Linked DNA regions of Homo sapiens: region 2 is linked to region 1. The links are contacts of gene promoters, found by promoter capture Hi-C in human tissues and cell types (Jung and others, 2019). All regions are on one chromosome and are shown on one strand. The core of a region is centred on a gene start or on the middle of the fragment in contact, and the rest is flanking DNA. Distances in the headings are between cores, read along the strand shown.

Region 1 (4,701 bases), core at 1,710-4,209:
GATTAAATCAAACCTTGTTATTTAAATCTATGTTTGCCCAACCACTTTCCCTTAAAGCCAATTCTCAAATTCAAGAAAATATGGCAATATGTTTTAGAGCATGAAAAAAGTTTGAGCATGCTAACGAACCAACTTGTAAAATATAATTACAAAAGATTACAAAAATGCTATCTTGAACATCTTACTGGTATAAATTGCATAAACTCTCTCATGCAACATATGTCATTCAGAGTAAAGAGGAAGGAACAGGATTTTAAACATCACATCCATTTAGGAAATTGGATATCAACTACTCCCATCTCCTGTCATGATGATGCTTTAGTTAATATCTTTTATTCTATTTTCCAGAGCTATCAGAATGAACCATGAAGAATAAAAGTACACAATGAAAAACTAATTATTTTAACAGAGGTTAAGCTAGGAAAGGCCTTGTGTAGCAAGCATCCTATGTTATTTCATTCAAACTATCTGCTAACAACAGCAGGAAAAAGGTTTGTATTCTTACCAATGAATTTCTGAGGCATTGAGCTTTTTCGTTTTGCCACATTGCTTGCTAATCTGTCCAGTACGAGAGCTCTTTCACTTCCCATCTCTGCTTTGATGTGTCTTGCCTCCGCACTTGCTAGTTTGGAAAAATGTAAAAAGAAGAGAGAAAAGAACACATTGGTACATGGGGAGAAAAGGAAATAAACTGGAAGGAGAAGTGTCCGAAGTTGGATGCACACTCTATTGTTGTTACCTGTTATAACTGCTCAGATTCTTGCCTGGGGTACCTGCTGTGGTCAGTGAAGCCGACACCAGGGCACATTCAAATCTTGCAGTCTTATGCCGAGATGGGAAAGCTCGACCCATCCCCAACCAGTACCTTCATTAGCAAGAGGAAGTATTAAATAAACAGCCTGGACGTGGTTGGTTGCAAAAAGATAGATAGATGGAGATCTAACCCCCGATCAGCCTTCTTTCTGATTCTGAGTAACTGCGTGTGACACCTGCAGACTGATATAATTCTTAACAACTTTGAAAAAAAAGCATGGTGCCCCAGATTTACTGCTCTGTTTATGTTAACAGCACTTTTGAAAATAGGTACACTCACACAGATAGCAAGACATCTACTCAGTGATTTGTGTATTGAAATTCTGAGTGGTTTCTTTCTTTTTCTTTTTCTTTTTTTTTTTCAGCACGCTCCTCTCAGTTCCTATCTTTCATATTCTGTTTCTCTGTGCTCTGTATTATCTGTTTCATATGCTCTTCACATTTCAAAATAGTCTCAATTAAAATTTCCCTAAGCAACACTTCTGCCTTGAAATTAAAGAACAATTTGTATAATGCATCTGTATTGAATTTCTAATAAAAATGTGAATAAAAACTGCCTATGGGCTGGGTGCGGTGGCTCATGCCTGTAATCCCAGCACTTTGGGAGGTGGAGGTGGGCAGATCACCTGAGGTCGGAGTTCGAGACCAGCCTGACCAACTTGGAGAAACCCTGTCTCTACTAAAAATACAAAATTAGCCTGGTGTGATGGTGCATGCCTGTAATCCCAGCTACTCGGGAGGCTGAGGCAGGAGAATCACTTGAACCTGGGAGGCAGAGGTTGCAGTGAGCCGAGATGGCGCCATTGCACTCCTGCCTGGGCAACAAGGGCAAAATTCCGTCTCAAAAAACAAAGAAACAAACAAAACACAAAAAAACCTGCCTATGAATGTGGGCCCATCCACAAATAGACCTGTGAGTGGTGTAGGCCTGTGGTTCTCAGACCTGGCTGCACATTAGACTCACCTGAATAGCAGGTAAGAAATACCTATGCCCAGGCCCCCCTTCAGATCAATTAAATCAGGATTTCTGGTATAGGGGCCTAGGCAAGAATATTTTCAAAGCTCCCCAGATGATTTTAAAATGCAGCCAGAATTGAGAACTACTAGAAGAGTATATAAATAGTGGCAATATCTAATCAACTAAAATAGTAAACTGTAATGAATATAATTTACCTCAATTCAGCAGGCAGTGCCCAAATTTATGTCTAAAGTTCAAAGAAGGCCAGGCACGGTGGCTCACGTCTATAATCCCAGCACTTTGCAAGGCCGAGGCGGGCAGATCACCTGAGGTCGGGAGTTCAAGACCAGCCTGACCAACATGGAGAAACCCCATCTCTACTAAAAATATAAATAATTAGCTGGGTGTGGTGGCGAATGCCTGTAATCTTAGCTCTCGGGAGGCTGAGGCCGGAGAATCGCTTGAACCCAGGAGGCAGAGGTTGTGGTGAGCCGAGATTGAGCCATTGCACTCCAGCCTGGGCAATAAGAGCAAAACTCCATCTCCAAAAAATAAATAAATTAATTAAATAAATTTCAAAGAGATACCAGCTTCTCTAAATACAAGGCTTGACATTTTAACACATGATGCTAGCCTGAACCAGGGATCAGCAAACTTTTGTCTGTAAAGGGCCAGACAGTAAATTTTAAAAATTTGCCAGACACATATAGTCTCTATGTTATATTCTTTGTTTTTTGTTTTTTTTTTTTCTGTTCCACGGCCTTTTAAAAACGTAAAAATCCCTGTACACAAACAGGCCACTGGCTGCACTTGCCTAGAGCGCCACAGTTTGCCCTCACCTGCCCTGGGCAAACATATTGTGATGCTGTAAACATTTTTCTCTGTTTTCTCATAAACACTTCGGGAGATCCAAACTAAAATGAACTATCCATACATTTCTATTATGTCTAAGGAAGAATAAATTGAAATTAGTTTAAGGGATTAGAGTAAAAAGCAAGTAGTGGCTGGCACAGTGGCTCACCCCTGTAATCCCAGTGCTTTGGGAGACTGAGGCAGGAAGATTGCTTGAGGCCAGGAGTTGAGACCAACCTGGGCAATATAGCAAGATCCTGTTCCTACAAAAAGTAATTTTAAAAAATTAGCTGGGCATGTTGGCATGCGCCTGTAGTCCTAGCTACTTGGGAGACTGAGGTGGGAGGGTTCCTTGAGCCCAGGGGTTTGAGGTTACGGTGAACTATTAAGGTAACTGCAAAGACCACAATTACTTTTGCACCAACCTATTAGTGCCAGTGCACTCCAGCCTGCGTGACAGAGTGAGACTCTGTCTAAAAAAAAAAAAAAAAGCCCCAAAGTATTAAATATTTCTAATTTTATTAGTGGCCTTAAAAAACTGTATGTTAGTCATTACACAATACATTATAAAGCTCAGTTTTCATTATTTAGTTAATTTATTTACTTATTTTTGAAACAGGGTCTCAACTCTGTTACCCAGGGTGGAGTGCAGTGGCATGATCACAGCTCACTGCAGGCTCAACCTCCTGGGCTCAAGTAATCCTTCTACCTCAGGTTCCAAAGTTGCTGGGACTACAGTCTAAAGCCACCATGCCTGGCTAATTAAAAAAAAAAATTATTAGTCTCAATATATTGCTCAGTCTGGTCTCCAACTCTTGGCCTCAGGCAGTCCTCCCACTTCAGCCTCCCAAAGTGTTGGGATTACAGGCATGAGCCACTGCACTCAGCCAAAGCTCAGCTTTTTTTTTTTTCCTGGAATAACATAAAATCTGGCTCTGCCAGGTGTGGTGGCACTAGCCCATAGTCCCAGCTACTCAGGAGGCTGAGGTGAGAGGATGGCTTGAGCCTAGGAGTTCAAGTTCAGCTTGGGCAACACAGTGAGATCCCATCTCTTAAAAAGAAAAAGAAATCCAGCTCCAAAAATGAAAAAGAAGAGGATGATAATAATGTGATAATAATGACAATATTTACTAGACAGTGAGTTTCTTGTCAAAAATAATTCTAGGCTCTAAAGGAATAAATCATAGCCTTCAGTGAAGCTATTAACAACTATTTGTGTAAATGAAAACAGTAAGGGTCAGAATAGGGGGCCTGAGTGGCTTTTGGGCTAGTGCAAAAGTACTCGACTGACTCTGGCTGACCAGCAGTTGTAAATAACGGGCACTTCAGCCACAAGACACTGCTATTGAGTGAAGAGGGTCAAATTCTGTCCAGCACAGGGATAGGTTTAAATGACCAAACAGGAAATTATTTATATATATTATTTCCTTTCACACAAAACCACCACCAGATGTGGCACTACCCAAAGCCCCAAGAGCAGAGAGATGAAAGACAAAGCTTGGAATTTGCAGTAAGTTCCTGGGGCTGTTAGGAGACTTTTTTCTTAGAATCAGGGGAGAGGTAGCTAAGTTTGCACTTTGACTAGGAACATTCATCCTGGTTCCAGCAATTTTGAGAAGATTAAATCCAAGTAAGCCTCCCCTCAACCCTGTAGTTATCAACAAAAAGATTTATAGGGAAAAAAAGAATGAAAAACAGTATTCTGGGAATGTTTACCTTTTATGCCCATTTTACCATTGTTCTTATTAGTCTATTGTGGTCCCTCCTCTCACTGCCAAATCATTACCCAGGAATTACCCCAAGCACGGTGCTACCCATCTAGTTTTCCCATTTGTTTCTCAGCAGTCGCTGTCTACATTTTACTGAAGTCAATGTCAATTAAAACAAGCAGCTTTCTGAGGACACGTAATCAACATCCTCTACATTTGGGAGGATGCTGAAGTGTGGACACATTGACCTAAATAACTGTAATTAGGGCAGGTCACTAAATGGCAAACTTTTGAGATAACATCACCTTTTATTCCTCGTTACCCACCAAACTGGTCTTTAGAGTCATTTCCAGATAAACATTATTCTGT
Region 2 (4,933 bases), core at 1,834-4,333, 42 kb before region 1:
ACAGCAGCATTTATTGAATGCCTATCCTTTCCTCCATGAAATTGTCTTGGCACCTTGTAAAATCAATTGACCAGAAATGTAAGGGTTTCTACTTGGACTCTGGATTCTGTTCCATTGACCTATAAACGCATTCTTATTTATTATTATTATTATTTTCCCCCGAGACGGAGTCTTGCTCTGTCACCCTGGCTGGAGTGCAGTGGCACGATCTCAGCTCACTGCAACCCCCGCCTCCTGGGTTCAAGCAATTCTCCTGCCTCAGCCTCCTGTGTAGCTGGAATTATAGGTGCACACCACCATGCCCAGCTAATTTTTGCATTTTTAGCAGAGGCGGGGTTTCACCATGTTGGCCAGGCTGGTCTCGAACTCCTGACCTCATGATCCACCTGCCTCGGCCTCTCAAAGTGTTGGGATTACAGGTGTTAGCCACCGTACCTGGCCTTATAGTTGTTGTTGTTTTTAAATTCAGATACAACTTATACACAGTAAAATTCATCCTCTTGAGTGTACCTTTCTTTTTTTTTTCTTTTCTTGAGATGGAGTCTCGCTCTTGTCTCCCAGGCTGGAGTGCAATGGCTCGAACTCAGCACACTGAAACCTCCGTCTCGTGGGTTCAAGAGATTCTCCTGCTTCAGCCTCCTGAGTAGCTGAGATTACAGGCGTACGCCACCACGCCCGGCTAATTTTTGTATTTTTAGTAGAGACGGGGTTTTGCCATGTTGGTCAGGCTGGTCTTGAACTCCTGACCTCGTGATCCACCTGCCTCAGCCTCCCAAAGTCCTGGAATTACAGGGGTGAACCACGCACCCAGCCTTGAGTGTGCCTTTCTATGAGTCCTAAGAAACACACACATTTGTGCATCCAACCCCAAAACCAAGATACAGTATGGTCCCATCACCTCTCACAAGTCCCTGTGCCCCCTACTGTGGACCCCTCTCCCTCCTCCCCAACCCCAGACCTGGTTTTTGTTCACACAGTTCCACCCGCTCCAGAAAGCCATATAAGTTGATTCCTACAGCACTCCGCCCTCTGACTGTGGCTTTGTTTCCATCCCATCCTTCAATATCCAGGATGATCTTTCCAAAATGTAAATGTGCCCTCTCCTCTGTGCTTCTACTTAAGTCTAAATACAACTTGCAGGGTCTGGTCTTTGACCGCTACTCCTGCCCATCTGGACAAACAGGATGGATGGCTCTCAAACCTGGTTTGCAGAACAGCCACCTGAGGGCTTGTCAATACCACACCTTCCTGGGTCTTAGCCCTAGAGACTGAGATTCAGTTGCTGGAGAGGAGCCCAAGAATCTATTTTCCACACAAGGTTAGGGAGGTCTAGAGGCCACATTTGCAGAAGCACAGCTTCCTCTCTCCACACCTTCCACACCTGTCCAGGTTCACCCACGTGGCCTCTGCTTCCTCCCTTCTCCTCCAACCCCACTCTCTGTCTCCGCATGCTGCATCTCCTCCTGCCCAGAGCTCTGGCATTGATTTCCTCACTGGGGAAAGTGGCCTCCTTCCCCAATTCCCATCCACCGATTCCAACCCCCTTCCCATGTCAGCCAGCTTCTCCTCTGCTCAGCTGTCACCTCCACTGAGAAGTCTTTCCTGACTCCCTATGTGAGTCATTTTCCCAGCATAGTTGTCTCCTGTCATTTCTTATTTGTGTGATTCTTTGGTTAACATCAATCTTCCTGATTGGCTGTGTGAGGATGGGCGGGGTCTGTTTTTGTTGTTTACGCCTGTATCCCCAGCACAAAACATGGGGCTGGCATATGGTAGGTACTAAACAGATAGTTGAATAAATGAATGAGTGAATTGTCTACTCTGCCTTTGCACAAGCTGCTCCATCACCAAAGAGACCTTGCCTCCTCCCCCACTTCTTTGCTGGGCCCACTCATACCGGTTTTCCTAGGAAAACTCTGGAGAAAATTGAGGCAGGAGCCACTCATTCGTGCCCCTTCCAGGGTGGACCTCTTATCACCCTAAGGATTGTTTGTTTTCCTGTCACCCACATCAAGCTGGGTGGTGGCCGCAGCCTTTGATCTCCACCTCCTAACCCCTCTCCCAAGTACCCTGTGTTTGCCCAGCACTGAATGAGACAGCTAAAGTGATCCCTGAGAGAACTAAAGTGTTCCCTCAGGCCGGGCGTGGTGGCTTATGCCTGTAATCCTAACACTTTGGGAGGCCGAGGTGGGCAGATCACCTGAGGTCAGGAGTTCAAGACCAACTTGGTTAACATGGAGAAACCCCATCTTTACTAAAAATACAAAAATTAGCTGGGTGTGGTGGCAGGCGCCTGTAATCCCAGCTACTCCGGAGGCTGAGGTAGGAGAATTGCTTGAACCTGGGAGGCAGAGTTTGCAGTGCGCCAAGATGGCACCACTACACTCCAGCCTGGGTGACAGAGCGGGACTCTGGCTCAAAAAAAAATAAAATAAAGTGATCCCTCTAAGAGGAATCCCCAGGGGCCCAGGCCAGAGCTTTCTCCAGGTCACCATGGCTCCTCCCACTGTGCCACCCTGCCTAACCCCCTCGATTTTAAAGGAGAAGCCAAGACTCTGGACTTTGCTCAGAAGGTGGGGGGCGGGGGAGGGAGGGCTTACCCTGGGTACCTCTGAGGGGCCAGGGCGCAGCCACCACGGTAAGGGTGACTGCAGATCGAGGGGCAGGCCATGTTGCTGGACACCACCCTGGCTGGCGTCCCTCTCGGCAGGGTGCTCTTTGCCCCATGGGGTGGGATCCAGAGCTGCAGACAGGCCCCCAGGCTTGGCCAATGAACAGACCAGGTTCGGGGAGGGTGTTGGAAAAGAGTGGATGGGGTGGTTCCCCTTACCTTGCAGCCCCCAGGCCCTCCCCCCTCCCTCCCAGGTGGTCGGGACTCTTGATCTTCGCTCGTGGTACTGTCTGTTCGGCTGTCTTCCCCGCCTCTCCCCAGGCACCTGCATCCTCCCTTGGCACCTGCTGCCAGGCTAGGAAGGGCAAAAACAATCCCAGTTGGCGTAGTCAGGGAGTCTCCGCCCTCCTCCCAGGTTTCCTCCTCCCAGGCGCCTCCCCTGGACCCGCCCCCATCTGCCCAAGATAATTTTAGTTTCCTTGGGCCTGGAATCTGGACACACAGGGCTCCCCCCCGCCTCTGACTTCTCTGTCCGAAGTCGGGACACCCTCCTACCACCTGTAGAGAAGCGGGAGTGGATCTGAAATAAAATCCAGGAATCTGGGGGTTCCTAGACGGAGCCAGACTTCGGAACGGGTGTCCTGCTACTCCTGCTGGGGCTCCTCCAGGTAAGGGGACCGAGATCGGTCTCAGACGACAGCCTGCCAGGCAACCCCCAGCCGCACCAGGGCCCCAGGCTGTGCCAGTCTCCGGCTGAACTGGCCGGCGGCCCAGGTGGGAGGATTGGAGCCACCTGGCTCTCCCCCTCCCCCGCTCGGTGATGTCAGGCCAGGGGCGGGGGCTGGAGGGGGACAGGTAGTTAAGGGCCTGGCGTCTCCCTCCCTGAAGACGTGGTCCCAGCCGGGTGTCCTGACGCTCGGGGTTCAGGTAAGAACCCAAGCGGGCATTTATCCTTTGGGGGCAGGCACGGCCGGTCTGGAGGCCGGTAGGGAAAGGCTGGGTCTCCTGATGGGTTGCTTGGCCTCCCACTTTTCTCTTTTCTGTCCATTTCCCACCCTGCCCCCTCCTCCCCACCCGCCCTCTTTTCGTCCCCATCCTGGTTTCCAGCGCTCCTTGTTCCCTCCCTGTACACCTCCCTGCAGGCAGCAGCTGAGAATGGGAAGGAAGACCTGATTCTCTCCTCCGACTTGGCTTTCCCGCTGAAACTAGCCCCTCCCCGCACACCCGGGGAGAGCCGCCCTCACTCTCTGGCTCGCCCAGTTTACCCCAGTTTGGGTTTCCCCAAGTCTCTAAGACAGACGTCTCTGCGGGCTGCGGGGAGATGTGGGGAGGGCCCCCTCCACTTTGGAGGGCAGTGAAGGAGAGGGATCCTCTAAATTGTCGAGGCTTCATCTCTCCAGATTGTATGCCCTTCTCAGCAACACCGCCTCCGGCCCTCCGATGGGAAAGTGGAGGCCGGGTGAGACGGGGTCCCTCCTGGCTTCAGCATGAAATGGGCAGGAAGGCTGGAGGGGTGTATGAGGGGCTCTGCAGTGCGGTGGGGCCTGGGGAGAGTGGGGTGGGGGATAGCAGATGGTTTCTTCTGCTTGATGAGGCTAGGGAGAGACCCAGGTTCCCGGTCTGGGTCTCCCTGGCAGATTGAGGACAGAGAATGAATGCATCTGCCGGCAAGGTGGAACGCCCCCCACCCCGCCCCCCAACTAGCCGCACCGCCCCCCAGGAATGCCCTCTTTTGGTCCGCCGGTCTTGGACTCTGCTCTCCCCTCTCCTGATATCCTACTGTATGCTTGGTGGGGGGACCTCATGGAGGCGGGCAGCCTGTAATGATTAACTGCAGAGACACTCCAGCATTCTTCCCGAATTAAACTTTAAAAGAGCTGCCCCGCCTTCTCCCATTGGGTATTTTTCCTGAGTGAGAGTGGGCGGGGCCTCAGAGTCCTGGGTCCTCCCTTATACTAGGAGTCATCCAGGGGTTTCTCACCTTCTCACCTGGGCCCTGCACCCTAAAAAATTATAAGCCTCTCCCGTGGGGGCGGGGCGTGGAGTACTGGGCGGACGGGGGCTCTCCCGCCACATCCAGGCCCCTGGCCCAGGCCTCAGTCCCGCAAGCCCTTCCCCCTGCTCTGGGAAGCAGAGTTGTTTTCTGTTGGCCCTGAACACCGGGCCCCGCCACCTGCCCTTAGGGCCAGCCAGGTGGGGCGTGATTCAGGAAGTAAACAAGGAGGTTGGGAGGACGGGAACGCGGGTGGGGCTGGAACCACTGGGGGAGGAGGCAGCTGGGAAGCCACGGACGGAGTTACCTCGTTGAGGGGACAAACTGAT

What was found. Contacts are between HindIII fragments. The study calls those that stand out against the background at their distance.
Region 2: a contact is called between the fragment with the promoter of GRB7 here and a fragment that was not itself captured in region 1, in 2 of the 25 tissues and cell types used here (lymphoblastoid cells and psoas muscle).

What each region holds. Positions count from the first base shown.
Region 1 is chr17:39,777,146-39,781,846 of GRCh38, forward strand. IKZF3 (IKAROS family zinc finger 3) reads right to left here. Exons shown (of 8, transcript NM_012481.5): 7 at 506-622. Among named protein-coding and RNA genes, the nearest start is that of GRB7, 42 kb to the left of the region's middle. RefSeq lists a silencer at 1,236-1,469. The HindIII fragment of the contact is 7,861 bases long and covers 1-4,701 here.
Region 2 is chr17:39,734,855-39,739,787 of GRCh38, forward strand. It overlaps GRB7 (growth factor receptor bound protein 7), which reads left to right and starts at 3,084. Exons shown (of 15, transcript NM_005310.5): 1 at 3,084-3,279. The HindIII fragment of the contact is 6,261 bases long and covers 924-4,933 here.